Linked DNA regions of Homo sapiens: region 1 is linked to region 2. The links are contacts of gene promoters, found by promoter capture Hi-C in human tissues and cell types (Jung and others, 2019). All regions are on one chromosome and are shown on one strand. Each heading gives the region's core, a stretch centred on a gene start or on the middle of the fragment in contact. The rest is flanking DNA. Distances are from core to core; before and after follow the strand shown. Region 1 overlaps SORT1 (sortilin 1). Region 2 holds the start of STRIP1 (striatin interacting protein 1).

Region 1 (3,033 bases), core at 156-2,655, 650 kb after region 2:
ACCTCAGGTGATCTGCCTGCCTCAGCCTCCCAAAGTGCTGGGATTACAGGCATGAGCCACTGCACCTGACCAAATTATTTTTTAAAGACTATAATTTAATAACAATTTTTCTTCCCCTTCATTAAGCTTTAATTTGTTAAGAGTTAATGGCTCTGGTTTAAGTTGATAGCTCTGAAATAGCACCTTGCATATTTCACCCCTTTCTTTAACTGAGCAGCTGCTGTTAGCTTTGCACTCTACTGATCTCTGTGAAGTTTCAAGAAATATTAGTGAAATGTGATAGGTACTTCTTAGGAACTTTGCTTGAAAGAATAGCGGACCAGAATGTTGATGGAATTATTTTTTATTATGTGCATATTGCTTTTTTAAACTTTTAACAATTATTTAAAAATAGAGATGAGGTCTTACTATGCTGCCTAGGCTGGTCTGGGATTCCTGGGCTCAAGTGATCCTTCCGCCTGGGCCTCCCAAAGTGCTAGGAGTATAGGTGTGAGCCACCACACCTGGCCTATGTGCATATTTATTTAACCTACTATTTCACCACTTCCTGGCCTATATTAACCCTCTGTTCCAGTTAAAGTGATCTTCTAACCAGTCCCTTCAGCTCCCCATATGGTCTGTTGCTTCTCCATCTTTGTTTTCATGGGTTTCTTCCTGTCTGAATGCCCTTCTAGCCCTTGTTAGTTTTTCCTGTTCTCTTCTATAATTTTGGACTGTGCCATGTAATACAACACTTCTGTCTTGTGTTCAGTTTCATTTATAGAAGTTTTACTCCCTAAATGATAAACTCCTTAAAGGTAGGGCCCAGCTTGTACTATGAGTCCTTCATCACTTTTGCCTCCCACAATGCTGAAGAAAGAGTAGTCATGAAATGTGTAGTCTGGAGTCAGACAGACATGAGATTGAAACCTTGCTCTGCCACTTACCAACTTTTTGACTTTGAGCAAATTACTTAACGCCTCTGAGCCTGCTGCTTTCTTTATAAATTAACAGTGAGTACCTTAATATATAATACTAATATAATAAGTGCTTAGTAAAGGTTAAATATTATTGTTTTTCTTTAATTCAGCAGTTGTTTGTCGAGCACCTATACACATGAGGCACTTATCAGGTCCTGGGAACTGGTGTAGAACACCAGACCTCTGCCTTGATGGAACTTTATGGACCAATAGAGAAAATGGCACTAAATGATATATAATTATAAATGTAGTAATTACCAAGAAGAAAAATAGTAACCACAGGAATAATTGACAGGTCTTTTTTAGTCTGGGGCATTAGGAAAGATTCACTGAGAAATTATTTAAACTGATACTTGAATAGAATTTTGCCAGGAAGAGTATCTCAGGCAGAGAGAACAACATGTTCATAAGGCCTGGGTCTAGAAAGAGCTTGGCATACTCCAGGATCTGGAAGAAGGCCAGTGTGGTTGTAGCAGAGGGAATGGGGGAAGGGGTTAGCGCCCACACCCAAGGGAGAAGCAGCAAGCCTTTATGGTTCTCTCGGCTCAGTCAGCTGGCAACTGGAGCATATCTCTCTGTCACTTTCTTTTCTTTAAAATGAACTAAGATATAACAATTAAATGCAAAAATTATGAAATGTAGCTATTTATTGAGAAATGAATTGTTTCATGGAAGTGACTTTCAAAAACTAAGCCTACCCTTTTATAAGTGCCAAAGGTTTTTTGTTTGCTTGCTTTTTTAATGGAAATCTTTCTAATATACTTCTCTGCCTTCTTGGTCAACAGTATGAGCCTAGGTCACTAAGAAGAGAATAAATTATGCTATACCAGGACTGCTGTGGTTTGAATGTGCCTCCCCAAATTCATGTTTTAGGAACTTAATCGTCAATGTAACAGTATTAAGTGGTGGGTCTTTAAGAGGTATTATATCATGAGGGCACCAACTCATGAATGGATTAAGGCCTTTATCCCAGGAGTGGGTTAATTATAATAGGGAGAGAGTTTGGTCCTATTTCTTTTCTTTTTGTTGTTGTTGTTGTTGTTGAGACAGAGTCTCACTCTATTGTCCAGGCTGGAGTGCAGTGTTGTGATCTCAGCTCACTGCAACCTCCGCCTCCCAGGTTCAAGGGATTCTCGTGCCTCTGCCTCCCAAGTAGCTGGGATTACAGGTGTACGCCACCACACCTGGCTAATTTTTGCATTTTTAGTAGAGATGGGGTTTCACCATGTTGCCCAGGCTGGTTTCAAACTCCTGACCTCAAGTGATCCACCTGCCTTGGCCTCCCAAGTGCTGCAATTACAGGCGTGAGCTACCATGCCTGGCCTGGTCCTATTTCTTTTCTGTGTCTCCTGTGCTTGCTTCCACTTTCTGCCATGGGATGATCCTCTGCAGATGCCTATGCCATACTCTTGGACTTCACAGCCTCCAGAACTGTGAGCTACATAAACGTCTTTTCTTTATAAATTGCCCTGTCTTGGATATTCTCTTATAGCAACTGAAAATGGACTAAGACAATGACTCACAGTATTTTAATGTGGTATGACATTTAATACCCACAGGAGCTATTGAGATATGTGGGGCTATCTTCTCCCATTTCAGATGTCCTGGATTATAAACTTAATGCCATTGTCTGCCTGTTTGCTTCTTTGCTGCAGAAATGATATTCCCTTTGTAATTCCTCTTGTAATATCCTCTTCCTCTTGCTGTTGTCCCTGTCTGTCTCTACATATATCACCCTCAAATTTGATTTGCTTCCTCTCTATGCTGAGAAAGCAGATTTCTAATATTAGACAATTCTAACCGGTTTAATAAATTGAATTAGAGTGATGGTCTGCAAATTTCTCTTAGAAGTCAAATGCACAGATTTTTAATGCATGATAGTGACATCAGAGGTCTCCTTGCTTCTTTTCGGTGAGTATCCGGGTTGCTGAGGCATCTGAATCATGGAGGTTGCTGTTGCCCCTCTCCTTTGAACACTGGCTTATTGTGGAGCAGGGAGCTGATCTCGAAAACAACAAAAACCCAGATACATAGCAGTTGAAAAGCAAACTGAGTGGCTAAATTATTGATGAGT
Region 2 (3,025 bases), core at 266-2,765:
TTACAATTCGTCAGAGGGTATCTATTTGACCATTCGTAGCTACTCTGGAAAATTTTAAACCATTTTTCAAAATGATAACTCCTCTCATGATGAAGGTAGGTTCACCCCCCTGCACTTTCGTAATCTTCCACTTGAAAAACTGAGTAGTTAACACTGATGTCCGTCATCCCACCATGCCAGGGCTCCTAAATGGTCAGTGTTTTTGTTTTTTTCAAATAATTCACTCCAAGCTCAAATTACGTCTACTTCGGGCTTGCCAATTGTTGACATGTTTTCTCAGGGGTTTAGCCTTGCTAACAAAAAATAAAAGCTTCTGAGGAACTGATTCCACAGGTCTAAAGGTAGTATCATTGCTCTTTGGTATGAATTGGTACATTATGCTTGGACAACTAGGAATTCCCTCTCATTAACTTGGCTGATCAGTTTGGCTGCTGATCAATCTAGGAGATGGCATAGTAAGTGCTCTGGGAACCTGCTCATTAAGAAGCCCTAAAACTCCGCGACATGAGTATCTTCATTCATGAATTCTGCAAAAGGAGGCAGTGGGAGGAATTCCTTAACTTGGGGTGAGGTTACTAGTCAGTTCCAGACTATGCCATCTCCAGAACGGCAGGAACGGCTCACTAGCGAGACAGGAAGGAATGTTGGGTCCTAACGCATGCTTAAAATGTCTATTTCTCATCTTTAACAGTTCAGTATCAGGCGCACTGGGCACAATAGCCCACCACAGGTACTGTTAACCCATGGCCTGATCTGGCTCAGGTCAGAAGAACAGGACATGTTTCCCCCTCCTACTCTACTCTCAATGATAATTAGCTCGGTCCGGCTCTAAGTTCCTTCCAGATCCTCGCCGGCGCCTTCCCTGCCCACACGCGCCTTCCTCTGCGAGCGGCAGGACCCAGGAGCTGGAGCCCGCGTGCCAGGGACAGACGCCCGAGATGATTAGGTTGGGGGCGCGGCAGCCCAGCGCCCTGGAGTGCACCAAGACCCCCGACTCCTCACCCCCGAGCTGGGGCGAGAGCGGCTTCCCCAGGGGCTAGGGCCTCGAGGCCACGCCCACAGTCGGGGCCCAGGGGAGCAAACCAGCAGTCGCCGGCCACGGGAAGCTCTCCCGGGCGGCGGAGCTAGAGCAAGGACTCATGCTCCAGACCCCAGGAGCTGCCAGCCTCGCTTCCTGCTCCTTTCGCTGTATAGTGACAGTTCTCGGCCGGACTCTACCGAGCCCTCCGGGAAGCCCAACCTGGCCCCTAGAGTGGCCCCGGGCCCGGGACCCCCGGCGCCGCCCGACCCGGTGCGAGCCTCGCCCCCCGAAGCTCCTGACCTCTGAGTCTTTGCGCTGGTTGCGGTTGAACTCGCGGGCTTTGCCCCCAGGCAGGAGGCCCGCGGCGGCCCGCGGTGCCCCGGGTGGTGGCTGTGCGGCTGCCGGCGGCGGAGGTGGCGGGGGCTGGGGCTGTTTGTTGTTCACGATCAGTGGGCCCGGACCGCCGACTGCCGGCTCCATCTTGGCTGCTCCACACCCCCAGCTTAACTCGCGCACAGCCGCCGTGATGCAACTCTCGCGTGATTTTCTCCAGGAAATTTCCCTGGCCGCCATATTAAGTGTGGCGGCCAGTGTTAGAAGCCATCTTGGCTGACCAATACCTCGCGATATTCTGTCTGCAGTCCTTCCCTTGTTGATCTTTTTAGTTTTCCACCTTCCTTTCAGTTTCAGTTTAGATGTAATTTTATCTGTGAGGCTTCCCTTAGCTTCTTCAGTCAGTTTAGTTACCCCTCCTTCCTCTAAATCGCTTTGCACTTATAACTCATAGCCTTGTTCAAGGCTTAGGCGGAATTTTGTAATGAACAAAATGGATAGGATCCTAGTCTTCACAGAGTTACCGTTGTGACAAGTGCTTGTCATTCATTCATTCAACAAACATTTAATAAATGTCTCCTGTGCACCAAGCAGTGGGATAAAATGAGGAACAAGTGTCTGCAGTCACGGTACATAACAGTGCTTGGTGGGTCAGACAAACAATAGACAAATATAGAGAAATAAATGCTGAAAAGTGTTAAAGGAAAATTTGTTCATGGCACTAATTAAAGATGGTAAGGCAGACTTTATGTAAGAGAGCCCATGGTGATAGTTACAGGGACCACTACAACCAGATCTTGCAGTGAAGAAGAGGAATTAGACTCAACTCTGACTCCAACAAGATATAGTGGGGATTTATAACCAAAGAGCAGGATGAGGGTCAGTGGACGGAAAACTACTAAGAGAAACATCAAGGATAAGAAGTTTCTTGCTAAACTGACCTAACAGGATTATTGCTGAAAGCAGGACAGGGTGCTAAGATGTTGAGGGTGGTCAGATACCGAGTGCTATGGTTTGACTGTGTCCCCCAAATTCCATACGTTGGAAACTCAATCCTAAAGTTCATATGTTGATGGTATTTGGAGGTGGAGCCTTGAGGGGGTGATTAGGATTAGATAAAATCGTCAGGGTAGGGCCCCTGTGATGGGACTGGTGGCTTTATAAGAAGAGGAAGAGTGATCTGAGCTGGCACACATGCTCTTGCTTTCTCACCGTGAGAGGCTCTCTACCATGCAGTTTAAGAAAGCCCTCACCAAATGCAACCCCTCGACTTTGGGCTCCCCAGACTCCAGAACTGCAAAAAATAACTTTCTTTCCTTTATGAATTACCCAGTGTTTTGTATTCTGTTATAGCAACAAAAAATGGATTAAGACGCCAAGAGTGGAGAGTCCCTGCACAAACTGGATTCAACAAGGACAGAAAGGAAGCCCAAACGGTTAGTCCTAGTAGGCAGAGGACTCACAGGAGCCTGACTAGAGTTTTGGCCAAAGAAGAGAATCTTTGTCAGAAGTAACAAAAATTGAGAGGTTAAAAGGTGGCAGTGGGGCGGGGGGCAGGGGTTGGTGGAGGCGGAGAATGTGGCTATAATATAAGCATGCTGCCCAAGGAAGGCAGGCCTGAGGGTGTGATTTTAGATGAGTTCTGAAAGAAGTGAGGAGAAGCCCTGCAAA

The links. Contacts are between HindIII fragments. The study calls those that stand out against the background at their distance.
Region 1: a contact is called between a fragment that was not itself captured here and the fragment with the promoter of STRIP1 in region 2, in 1 of the 25 tissues and cell types used here (pancreas).

The regions. Positions count from the first base shown.
Region 1 is chr1:109,384,047-109,387,079 of GRCh38, reverse strand. All of the region lies in intron 1 of SORT1 (sortilin 1), which reads left to right. Among named protein-coding and RNA genes, the nearest start is that of SORT1, 12 kb to the left of the region's middle. The HindIII fragment of the contact is 4,275 bases long and covers 1-3,033 here.
Region 2 is chr1:110,033,114-110,036,138 of GRCh38, reverse strand. It overlaps STRIP1 (striatin interacting protein 1), which reads right to left and starts at 1,515. Exons shown (of 21, transcript NM_033088.4): 1 at 1,322-1,515. The coding sequence starts at 1,501. It overlaps LOC105378895 (a long non-coding RNA gene), which reads left to right and starts at 700. Exons shown (of 3, transcript XR_947693.3): 1 at 700-730; 2 at 2,708-2,790. RefSeq lists silencers at 921-990, 1,231-1,450 and an enhancer at 1,451-1,840. The HindIII fragment of the contact is 12,037 bases long and covers 1-3,025 here.